Linked DNA regions of Homo sapiens: regions 2 and 3 are each linked to region 1. Evidence: promoter capture Hi-C in 16 types of primary human blood cells and fetal thymus (Javierre and others, 2016). All regions are on one chromosome and are shown on one strand. The core of a region is centred on a gene start or on the middle of the fragment in contact, and the rest is flanking DNA. Distances in the headings are between cores, read along the strand shown. Region 1 holds the start of ZDHHC17 (zDHHC palmitoyltransferase 17). Region 2 holds the start of IKBIP (IKBKB interacting protein). Region 3 holds the start of ETNK1 (ethanolamine kinase 1).

Region 1 (3,774 bases), core at 381-2,880:
TGGGGGACAGGGAGAAACCCCGTCTCAAAAAAATAAACTGGATAAACACTTAAGTGTTTGAAATACTTTCACGAATACTTTCACAGGAACAGATGAATAGAAATCACTTAGCAACATTTTCAAGGCAACATCTGAAAACTACTTTGTCTATTTCCTGACGTATGTTAGGGCCTAAGTGAACCAAAAGAGATGTCTACAATGCCAGTTCTGAAAATGTTACCACTTTGGTCAGACAAGTGTTTAGTCTTACTGTATAGTTCTGTTTATCAGAAACCCAGAGTAGCCTTTTCTACTGAGACTGGCACAGGTATATATTCCGAAGGAACTGTCCCATGTGTTTTTGATAAACCAAAGTGACGAATGAGAGGGTGGTTGAGTGTTAACATGCAACATAAAAGGATGGTTGTCATTATTCACTTTTTAACAAAAACTAGTGGCATGGTACAAACCCAAATCCAGAAAAAAACAGAATCACTCCATTGCAAAGTAACCAGGTAGAGACTTCCATGTTTGTTCATCCTACAACACGACTGTCATCTTTTAACCTCATGAAAACTACCCGAGTTCTTCAGCAAACTGTGCCGCTGCCGCATACAGACATCACTGTGGATCACTAAAAATCAGAATGCATCAAGAATTGCTTCCAAGCCTTAACTAGCACTAGCTCAGCTACAAACTCGGAGGTAAACAAGCACAGACTGACTGACTGTGGAGCGGGGCACTGTTTACTTACATGGGAAGACACTCATGTTGTGATGGGAAACGTGTTGCACTGTCCACCCCTAGCTCCTAGAAAAACGGTACTTTGACAAGCTAATGTGAGTGTAAGTCTATTCCCAAAAGTTTTTACCTCTCTTCTTAATCGCTTAAGGACAAATGCTCAAAAAAGGACGCCCGACACAAGGTGCCCGAGGTGCTACCCATGGCATTACCTGGAAGGACATCACTATGCCCATGAAACTGTCCCCTCACAGTGGACTAAAAGGAAGCAATAGATACCGTCATTCACCCTGGCGAAGGAAAAAGAAATCAAAACCAGACGCGCTTCCACCTGGCCCCAAGAGGCTTGGAGCAAGACTAGGGTCTAAGCTGCGGTTCAAAAACCACACCAGGCCCCTCCGCCTCTGCTCTCAAACGCAGCGCGGCGACACAGCAGAACCATCAACACCTCCACCTCTGTCCTCCAGGCACAGCCAGGGACTGCGTCCCAGAGCCCGCCCCGGTCGGGCCCGCCCCGCTATCTCCTCCCCCGTTATCCGCTCGCAGCCGCGCTCAGGCCTGGATTCGCCTCCCCACCCTCCCCAACTTCGGCACGTCCCACTACCCCACACACGTCGGCCGCCGCCCTCGGCGAGTCCGGGGAAGAAAGGCTGGAGGGCCGCAGGGCAAGGAATCCACTCAGCACGGTTCCTCACCTCTGGGTGGAGAAGGGGCACACAGCCCGCTTCGGTATCGTACTCATCCGGGCCGTCCGCCATCTTGGTGTTAAATCCCTCCTCCCGCTGCATGCTGGGAGAAAGCGTTTCACCCTCCCGGGGCTCGGGCGAGGCGGAGGGCGAGCGCGGGGCGAGCGCGAGCCCCGCCGGAGGCGACGCGGGCCTCCTCCTCCTTCTTCTCCTGCCCCCGTGACGCCCCCTCTGTCCCCTCCCCCCTCGGAGGGCGCGGGTTTCTCCGCGCGTGCGCGGAAGCGCGGCCCGGCCCCAGACTGGATCGCGCTCTGCTGCACTGCGCTGGGGACGGCGGAGGGCTCTGGGCGTGGGCCCCGCGGCTCGGGGGCGGGTCCCGGCTGGAGGTAGATGTGAAGCTCTGGCTGCCCGGGGGAGGCGGCCGGGCGGTTGAGACAGTCGCTTGGGAAACCTAGCAGCTGCTCAGGAGCGAGAACAGAGCTCCGGAGCCGCACGCAGCACAAGTCTGGAGCCCCAGGCAGCCGAGGAGCCCACGCCCACGCGCTCCCACTTCCGCTCCGGGACCCCCGGGACCCCTCTTCAGGAACTCGGGCAGAGTCGTCAGCCAGCTCCAGGGAGGTTTGGGCCCGTCAGGCTTGAGTCGAGACCTGCATCATTCCTGAAGACAAAAGCAGCTTCCCTTTCCTCCACACTTGAAAAGGTCACCCGCAACCTGTCCCTCCGGGGGACGCCCGGAAAAACATGGATACAACTCGGGACTTCCTACTAGAGAACCCTTTTTTTTTTTTTTTTTTTTTTTTTTTTTTTTTTAATGAGACAGAGTTTTGCTCTTGCCGCCCAGGCGGGAGTGCAATGGCGCGATCTCAGCTCACTGCAACCTCTGCCTCCCGGTTCAAGCGATTCTCCTGCCTCAGCCTCCCGAGTAGCTGGAATTACAGGTGCACGCCACCACGCCCGGCTAATTTTTGTATTTTTAGTAGAGACGGGTTTTCACCATGTTGGCCAGGCTAGTCTCGAACTCCTGACCTTAAGCGATCCGCCCGCCTCGGCCTCCCAAAGTGCTGGGATTACAGGCTTGAGTCACCACACCCTGCCGAGAACTCTTTTTAAAATGATCCCAACCTGCTCTCAATCGTCTTGAATTAGTACCACACAAAAAATTTACGAGCTCAAAGCCCACACACCGCCATCTGCAACATTTCGATATAATCCAGGAATTCAGAACTGAAGCCACTTAAACTGAATTCGCTTAAATGCAAGGCAGATAAAATGACTAAAGCCATTTTTTAAAGGATTTTAGGGCGGTATGGGGGAGGTGCTCCCTGTAAATGGGCTGATGGGACAGTTTTAGATAGCATTTGTCTTTCCTTTTAGCTGTTAAAAATTGTAAGTCTAAACAGCTGAGAATTTAGCAGAGATCATGAAAGTTGACCTATTAGAGATCCTGGTACTTACTAATCTGTCTCCTGTTAGGCCAGAAACCACCAGGAAAAAGCCTGTACTCCGATAACGTCAGGCCAATTTGTAAATCAGGAGGGAGGGCACTCCAAAGGAAGCTTGGAATGCCACTGGAAAAGGAAAGAGGAAGCCTCCTTTGTAAGATTAGTTTCCCGCCAAAGGAGTCTGAGGAGGGTCTAAGGAGAGCCAGAATCAGTTCTGCATGGGACGCCGTTTCCGTGGCGGCATGAAGAAAAGCTGGGATTTACGAGGGATTGGATGCTGTCTTGAGGATACAGCAATTTAGTAATTAGGTACCTCCAGTAATAAAGTAGCAACACTAGTAAGAGCAGCAGTTACTCAAAGAGGGGTGAATATGGCGTGTCATAGCTACTGCACGGCTGTGGGAGAAAGAAGTTTCTCAGTTAACTTTGCTGCTGGCTTTTTCTGTATCTGTCCTCCCAGCACAACTACTTTTTCTCATTTCAGTCCGAGCTGATTTTCATTCTGTTCGTCCTGGCCCAAACTAGGAGTCATCTTTTACAGCTAGATAGTCTCAGGGTCGGCCCTTGGAGCATCGAATTGTTTTCAGTCATATGTTAACATGGACATAAGTCATTTTCACTCAAAAATCTCAATTTTTTTTTTTTTTTTGAGACTGAGTTTCACTCATGCCCAGGCTGGAGTGCAATGGCTCGATCTCGGCTCACTGCAACCACCACCTCCCAGGTTCAAGCGATTCTCCTGCCTCAGCCTCCCAAGTAGCTGGGATTACAGACATGCGCCACCATGCCCGGCTAATTTTGTATTTTTAGTAGAGACAGGGTTTCTCCATGTTGGTCAGGATGGTCTGGAACTGCCGGCCTCAGGTGATCCACCCGCGTCTGCCTCCTAAATTGCTAGGATTACAGGCGTGAGCCACCGCACCCAG
Region 2 (4,084 bases), core at 935-3,434, about 22 Mb before region 1:
ATTGAGTATTAGTTCTCGTTCAAGGAGGATGTCAGCTCTAGGTCCTCCTTGCTAAACACATTTCCCACAAAGCAACAGGAAACACTTTCTGATGTGATTTCTCAGACCAGGAGGACATGAGGAAAGAATAACAGCCTTTATAGTAAAATACTTGACGTTTCTAGCAACTTTATTTCAAATATAATGCAAATTTTTCCATGGGCATAAAACCCAGTTCACAATATCTGCAAGTTTTCAAAACATTAACAGAACTTTACACAATGTATAGAGTGAAAGAGTCTAAACGGGTTTATCAATTCATTCATTCAATACACATTTGTGCCCCTCCCTATATGTCAGACACCAAGACTACAGAAAAGATTGAGTCATTTGCCTGAAATAATTCACAGTCTACTCAAAGAAGAAAAAGAGAGAGAGAGTGGGAATGTGAATGCCCGAAGTGCAAAAACAGAGCACAAGTAACTTGGAGCTCACAGAAGGGGGCAATAATTATCAAGCTTCAATGACTGTTTTTGAAGTCACCAAATGTAGCACTTGGAAAAACAGGGACGGACGTAGGGCATTTGCCTATGCTTGTCAAGGCTTACAAAATGCCCAGCAGGGGCACAAAACTGATAAAAAGTTATTGATTCGAATCAAAACTCTCATTTTTTAAAATGTTAATAACGTTTTTGTCCTCTTAAACATAAAATGTTCCTTAATTTATAGTAATGAAATTCGATGTGAAAAAACAAGAATGAATGAATTTTTTAGGTGATGTCCAATAGCTAAGCAAATAAGACACTCTGGTTTTCTGAAACTAATTTCCAATTTCACCTAGTCCTGTTAAACTAAAATATGCAAATCTTAAATACGTTTTAAAACTGCACAACTTATCTGAACTAAGTCTCAAAACCTTTTGTAACCCACAACAAAATGGAAAGCCAAAACTCTTCATGGACGTAAAACAGAAAACAGCGCACGTTTATCCACGAAAACCCCAAGTTTACTACTTCCTCATTACAGAATTTCTCTTCCTGGTACAGGAGCAGGATGGTTATCAAATATTCCATGTCCTCAAATTCTCAGTCCCTGAAATCAGCTACCAAGCCTCCAAAGAACCTGGCTCGGGGAGAAAAGCGAGGAGGTCAACTTACCCAAGCCTTTGCGCCTAGGTCTTAGTGGGGAGGGCGGCACTGCCGGGACAAGACTGGGAGACTCCAGGCCGGTGGAGGGAAACGGCAACAGGAGTTTTCCACCGGGAATTAGGGGTGCAGGGCTCTGTCTCGCCACATACCCTTCGCCCCGGGGCAGGTCCGGGCCTCACAGGCGCCTCCCCTGGATCTCTGCAGCCCCGGGGCGCACGAAGACCCCCAGGGACCTCCGAAGGTTGGCGAGGTGGGCGTCCACCCAACGCAGCCTGACCCCACAGTCCCGGAGCGCCGCGGTGAGGCCCGGCCCACGGGCCGCCCTCCGGTGGACCCCACTACTGGACACAAAGGGAGGAGGTCTTCCCGGCCTGTGGCGCCCTTCCCCCGACGGCGGCTGCACCCCGGAGGGAGCCCGGCGCTACTCCGGATGCCGCTGCGGCACCTCAAGTCTTCGCGGGTCGCCGACTGCCCAGACTCCCCACCTCTGGTTCTATCCCTTTTGCCCGGGATAGAGCAGTCACGTCCACTCGCTACCTCTTCTTCTCCGCCTCTGGACAGCGGAGCAGTCAAATCCCGCCGGATCCACCCAGCCCGGACGGCGCGCGCCCGCTTATGCAAATAAACACACCCCAAGCCCCAAGGGGCGGCCACCGCTGCCGCCGCGCACTCCTGCCACGGCTCATGCCCGCGCGCGTAGAAGTGCCCGCCTACCCCGCGGACGGGGCGTGGCTAAGCCTCAGGGACGCGCCGCGTTCCCACCAATGCCGGACTCGGGCAGCGGCGGCGCGCCCGACGTGGCGCGCGCGACCCCTTCGTCCTGCCCCTCCTCCTCGGGTCCCGTCGGCCTGCGCGCGCCCGGGAGTTTGAATTTCCTCGGATTTGGAGCAATATCGCAGTGGAAGGCGCTGTGGGTTGAGGTCGCCGCCCACCTCTCCTAGGGGAACTATGGAGCTGGCAGCTGAAAGACTCAGTGAAGCAACGAGGATGCCGGGGAGAGGGAAGGGGCTGGGCTCTGGGCGGTGCCAAGTCTGTGAGGGGGCGCGGTCACCGCCCAGGGTTCCCACGAACGCCAAGGCGGCCACGTCCTGCTCCCCCTGGTGAAGAAGCTGCCCTGGGCTTGTCGTCCTAGGGTCTCCAGACATGTCTGAGGTGAAGAGCCGGAAGAAGTCGGGGCCCAAGGGAGCCCCTGCTGCGGAGCCCGGGAAGCGGAGCGAGGGCGGGAAGACCCCCGTGGCCCGGAGCAGCGGAGGCGGGGGCTGGGCAGACCCCCGAACGTGCCTGAGCCTGCTGTCGCTGGGGACGTGCCTGGGCCTGGCCTGGTAAGTGGACGCGAGGCTGCCTGGGCCGGCCTCCTGTGGGCCCCCTGCTGTTTGGGCTCCCACCCGGCTCAACATCCAGCCGGAGGTGATCCAACCTCCCAGACCTGGGCCTTCTGTGCCTCTGTCTTGACCCCAAAGGAAGGAAACAGCCCAGCCTTGTTTTTCCCTTTCGGGCGTTTCTTGTATCTCATTTCCCCCCGTGCTGGTAGCATGCCCCTATCGCTCAGAAGGAGTTGAGGCTAAGGTTTGGGAACGAGCCATTTGTTAAGAGCTGCAGATTCGGCCACGCTTTCTGAAGCTCCCGCTACACGTCAGAAGCGTTCACGTTGTTATAAACCGTTACTTCCTGTCCGCTGTGCCCCATTCCGGGACACATCTGCCCCACCCTACTCACCCCATAAATACCTAATGGAAATACTTGCAACCTTAAAACAGATCATTATGTTTGGAGACCGAGGCAGGTGGATCACTTGAGGTCAGGAGTTCGAGACTAGCCTGGCCAACATGGTGAAACCCCATCTCTACCAAAAATACGAATAATCAGCCGGGCGTGGTGGCGGGCGCCTGTAGTCCCAGTTCCTCCGGAGGCTGAGGCAGGAGAATCGCTTGAACCCGGGAGGCGGAGGTTGCTATGAGCCAAGATCGCATCACTGCACTCCAGCCTGGGCGACCGAGCGAGACTCCGTCTCAAAAAAAAAAAAAAAAGAAAACCATATCATTATGCTCCCAAAGGAGCAAACGTTATAGTAGCAGAGCTTGGAGGAGTGCTCATATTTTGATCACCGTGCATGCATTATGAATTTAAGGTCTTTTATTAAGTAAGTTACAGATTGAATATGGTAAAGCTACAAAAACATAGCACTTGTGTTCACTTAAAACTAACCAGTTGCAGTTTTAAAATCAGGTAAATGGCGATATATTGGTGTCATTAGGAAAAATGAATATTAGAAATAACCTTAAAACCAACTCGTAAAAAAAGAAAAAAGAAAAAAACCAACTTGTGAATTTTATTTTCCCAGCCTTTTTTTTTCTGGCGGGAGGAGGGAATAGCCCATTTCATTTTAATAAGATTGGCATCTTAATAGAATTTTTCTCCATTTTTCATTCATGTGTAAAGTTATTTAGTAAGACTGTTGTTAATCTTCCAGAGTGATAGAATTTTAGAAGAGACCCTGGACATCTAGACATTTTTTATGCTACTACATATGGAATTATACTTTACTGGTGACTCATCCCAAATAGTGTATTTTTCAGAGTTAAAAGATTTGTTACGGCTGGGCGCGGTGGCTCACACCTGTAATCCCAGCACTTTGGGAGGCCGAGGTGGGCAGATCATGAGGTCAGGAGTTCAAGACCAGGCTGGCCAACATGGTGAAACCCTGTCTCTACAAAAAATACAAAAATTAGCCAGGCTTGGTGGCACAAACCTGCAATCCCAGCTATTCAGGAGGCTGAGGCAGGAGAATCACTCGAAATGGGGAGGTGGAGGTTGCAGTGAGCTGGGATCGTGCCATTGCACTCCAGCCTGGGCAACAGAGCGAGACTCCATCTCAAAAAACAAACAAACAAAATTTTGTCACAATAAAGTGATTAAACGCCCTCTTCAAAAACAATAGAATTGTCAGCCTGCCGGCA
Region 3 (4,097 bases), core at 1,537-4,036, about 54 Mb after region 1:
CTGAGCAAAGACTGGGCCTTCTATCATTTTGACTCTAGTAAGTCTTTTTTAGCTTGTTTTTTTCTTTTTATTTTCTGATATGCTCTGGATAGTTCAGCTTGCAGGAATAATCAATCACCAGATAAGTATTACTACAGTAAGTTTCTAAAGTACATTTAAAGTATATCTTAAACATACAAAAATGTTAGAAAAAAACTGAGAAAAAAACAGGCTACATTACTGATACTCGACTGCTCTAAAATTACATTATACTCTGTCGACTATATAATACATACTTCCTCTGAAATGTGAGGTATGATTCTTATCTATTTCAAGGGAAATACAGTAAAATCTCAAAAGAAAATATTTCCTTTGAGATTTACTAAAGAAATTCTGAACCATTATGAAAGTAGTGTTTGCAATGACCTAGAATGCAAGGAGCCAGATCTACTGAGTTGAAAGGTGAATAATCATCAATTCAGCTTAGCAGATGCTTTTAGGACAGCTTCTAGACCAAAGCTTTGCTTGCACATGGAGGGAATGTATTTCTAACTAATAATCATCTTAGGGAAAAATAAATGGTAGTATTTACCTGCACTTACAAATATTAAAAATTCGGATTATAAACCCAAAGGTCTTTAGGTTAAAAGTTGCTACAAGAAACCAAGATTTAAACACACGTAGTTACTTTCCAACAAGCAAAAACAGTTTAATGTCACTACATTTTGCCCTTTTTTACCTACATCCTGGCTTACTTCACTGAGTTTCACCTAAAATGATAGTGCCTACCTAATATGGTTGTTCGGGCGACTAAGATAAAAAAAAAATAATTTAACTAACCCCACAGTAGCTATTATTACTATTCTACAGACAAATACATCAAAGGAAATTCCAGTCTTCAAAGCTTTAAACTTTAAAGTCACTGCTTAAAAGTAACTGATCTGCCAACACTAGAGTTTACCAGGAAGTAGCACTTTTTAATTAATAATGTTTTATGTATAAGTGACTGCCAGAAAACAAATCATCTTAATAAATTTTAGAGTCTTATATAATAAAATACAAACAAATTGATAAACTAAACAAGTACTGAATTTCAATTTGGAAGACACATTTCCTTTAAAGGAAATATATTTTTTAAATGACATAAAAATCACTTTGGATTCACTATTTCCTATATTCTCGGCTAACAAATACTCCCTTAAATTTCAAAATTTGTTGTCTAACAAGTTTCTTCTCCAAAACATACGGGTCCTTTAAAATAATCTGCTTAAAAACTCTTCTAGGTAATAAGAACTGAAACTAACACATGAAAACCCAAGTGTCAGGAACTGTTCTGGGCCCTAGGCACTGCTCATGTTTTATTCATCTTTGTGTGGGTGGCTGGCTAGTTTAGCGAAGAATTTAGCAAATAAATCAACAAATATTGGTGAATAAATTAGTCATCAAAACGAGGCAGATGATTTGGCTAATTCAAATGAATGTTCTTACATTATTGCTCAGATTTAGAACAAATCCCAAATATCCCAATCTTGAAAATTACTGTTTTTTTTTGTTTGCAAGGGAAAAGGAGAAAAAGAGATCTATTTTTGTATCTAGTTCCTGAAACTAAAGCTAAAAACAGATTAGTATTCAAAAAAAATCACGTAGTGGAAATCATAACTTCCAACTTATTAGAAAACTCCTAGAGTCTCAGGGATTTTTTTCCTCCCAATTTTTTCTCTATCAACACGGTGTCTCATGAAAAGGAAACAGTCACAAGCCACTGCTCCTTCTAGTATCAGGTATTAATTTCAGTAAGACGACTTTAATAATTCAGAAATATCGACTCAAACAAAACAATGTGTGTGGTGCTGCCTAAGAACCGACCTAGCGATGCATGGTCGTGGTCATTACTTTGGGAATTGAGTACGCTAGGGTTTGGGAAGACAAAACGCAGTGTGAGGCATCAATGAAAGCACATCGCAGGGGGAGGGGAGAGGAAGGAAAGATCAGAGAGGATTAATGACTGCATTACTGGTGGGAGGGGAGGAGGTAGACGAGGACCCCGTGCAAGGGGAGTGGAAAGGTTCATTTTGCAGTGACCGTGGACTGGGGAGTGGGAGGAGGGGCAACTATCAGCAGGAATCTCCCCCCGTGGATGGGTCCGTCACTTACGCAGCGGCTTCTAGAAAGAGAAAATGTGCCTCAGGTCAATCTCAAAGAGCAACTGCGACGGGAAGGGGGAGTGACCCTCCTAGGTGTGAGGGGAAATACAGGGTCACTTCCCAATAGACTTAAGGAGATGTTGCCCTAGGTCCTCCTCGGTCATCGTGGGACAGAGGCGATTGTGGTGAGGACCCCCAGAGCCGCGTGAGGGGCATAAGAGACCCAGAGCTGAGGTGTGGGCGTTACCTGCAGGGTCACCTCCTGGGGGTCCCAGTGAGGCCGCAGGTGTTGCAGGAGGCTCAGGGCCCCCTCCCGGCAGCGATGCTCCTCCTGATCCTGAACGGTGACGTTCAGCTTGGGCACCTCCGGGGAGCCGGGAGGGACGTGGATGTAATTGGCCATGGCCCAGGCGACGGCGGAGACTACCACCACGACGACGGCGACGGCGACCACGAGAACGGCGGGCGCCGACAGACTGGTGGATCCTTCCGTCCCGGGGCGCCCTCGCGGGAGGGCTGGGGGCGCTGGGACGGGCGGGCGAGCGGCAGGAGAACGTCTGGAGGCGGCACTGTTGCCGATCCGGGTCTGGACAGCAGCTGAACTGAGCCCGGCCCGCTCTCGGAGAAAATTCCTGTTGTCGGAGCTGGACCGCGGGCGGCCGCAGAGCATGCCGGGGCTGGCCTGACGCTGGCGTCACGCGCGGGGCGGGTCCTGCGCTGCGTCAGGGTGCCGAGGCGGGGTTTCTCGCCTCCGGTCACAATGGGACCTCTGTACCGCGCTGGGCTTGTTGGCCTGCGATTAGCACACACCCATCCCTGGGAACTGCTAGTCTGGAAAGCGGGGCTGCTTCTCCGGGATGAGCCCGAGCCCTGCCAAGCCCCTCAAGGCATTGAAGCTTTAGCTCACCTTATCCGAATGGTCATTGGGCATCTGGACTTGAGTTAACGACTGAATTTTTCTGGGAAGCAAGGGACACGTTCTAAAATAACCCCAGGATCACTCTCCGAACTTGGCCTGAGTCTAGGCAAGCAGTGTTACTCGGTCGCCTTGATCTTGGAGCTGCTGTGTACTGGGGACCTCATACTAGTTGGGTTAACTATATTCCCATTAGCAGTACGCGGGATCGCAGTACTCGGGACAAGCTGAGTTCAGGTATTTGGGTAAGACAACTGCAACACTTCAGAGGTTATTTGTGGAGTAAGATGTTCGACCATACAGTGAATAATTCGAAGCTAGGGAGAACAGATTAGAGTCTGGTATGAAGAAGAAAGGGAAGGAAAGGAATAGTTTTGAAGCTCAGCGCTAGAACGACTCGATGTCCATGCCAGGGTACCCCGAGTGGGCCTTGAAATCTTGCGTCTCAGTGCCTTACAGGGAATGGTAGAAACTGGAAAATCTACAAGTAAAGTATTGGGACCTCCTAATTTTCCTTTTAGATGGAGGAAAACGGGCTGGGATTCCCTGCAGCACTTAGCACACGGTGAATACGTTTGTTAGTAGTAAATAAAACCCTTAACTGGACTGAGTTTAATTAACATTCAAAATGTTTAATTACTTCACTAGCATTAAGTTTACATCCTGATTGTTCAGAAAGAACCTACTTACCTTTGTAATTAACAAAATAATTACTTCACCGATAACGGTAAACTTCCTAAACTAAAAAGAGGGGTGGAAATGGAGCTTTATAATACAGCAAAGAAGTTGATTTAACATTTTTCAAATTTAGTGGTTTTTTTGTTTGTTTTTTGTTTCTGTTTTTTTTTGTTTTGTTTTTGAGACGGAGCCTCACTCTGTCGCCCAGGCTGGAGTGCAATGGCGCGATCTTGGCCCACTGCAACCTCCGCCTCCCGGGTTTAAGGGATTCTCCTGCTTCAGCCTCTCGAGTAGCTGGGATTACCGGCGCGTGCCACCACGCCCAGCAAATTTTTGTATCTTTAGTAGAGATGGGTTTCACCATGTTGGCCAGGCTGGTC

Evidence for each region. Contacts are between HindIII fragments. The CHiCAGO score rates a contact against its expected background, and 5 or more counts as called.
Region 2: a contact is called between the fragment with the promoter of IKBIP here and the fragment with the promoter of ZDHHC17 in region 1, in 2 of 17 cell types (total B cells and non-activated CD4 T cells). The highest score is 6.6, in total B cells.
Region 3: the fragment with the promoter of ETNK1 here is called in contact with the fragment with the promoter of ZDHHC17 in region 1 in 1 of 17 cell types (total B cells); the score reaches 5.8 in total B cells.

What each region holds. Positions count from the first base shown.
Region 1 is chr12:76,761,971-76,765,744 of GRCh38, reverse strand. ZDHHC17 (zDHHC palmitoyltransferase 17) reads right to left here and starts at 1,630. Exons shown (of 17, transcript NM_015336.4): 1 at 1,416-1,630. The coding sequence starts at 1,508. RefSeq lists enhancers at 1,283-1,432, 624-1,466, 1,442-1,736, 2,033-2,132 and a silencer at 1,483-1,892. The HindIII fragment of the contact is 3,524 bases long and covers 1-2,964 here.
Region 2 is chr12:98,642,888-98,646,971 of GRCh38, reverse strand. IKBIP (IKBKB interacting protein) reads left to right here and starts at 2,184. Exons shown (of 3, transcript NM_153687.4): 1 at 2,184-2,449. The coding sequence starts at 2,271. APAF1 (apoptotic peptidase activating factor 1) reads right to left here and starts at 1,682. Exons shown (of 27, transcript NM_181861.2): 1 at 1,137-1,682. RefSeq lists silencers at 1,278-1,487, 1,808-2,007 and enhancers at 1,584-2,211, 2,212-2,838, 2,839-3,466. The HindIII fragment of the contact is 4,349 bases long and covers 500-4,084 here.
Region 3 is chr12:22,623,860-22,627,956 of GRCh38, reverse strand. ETNK1 (ethanolamine kinase 1) reads right to left here and starts at 2,786. Exons shown (of 8, transcript NM_018638.5): 1 at 2,371-2,786. The coding sequence starts at 2,526. ETNK1-DT (ETNK1 divergent transcript) reads left to right here and starts at 2,911. Exons shown (of 4, transcript NR_135030.1): 1 at 2,911-3,284. RefSeq lists enhancers at 1,663-2,352, 2,372-2,541, 3,072-3,141. The HindIII fragment of the contact is 2,136 bases long and covers 886-3,021 here.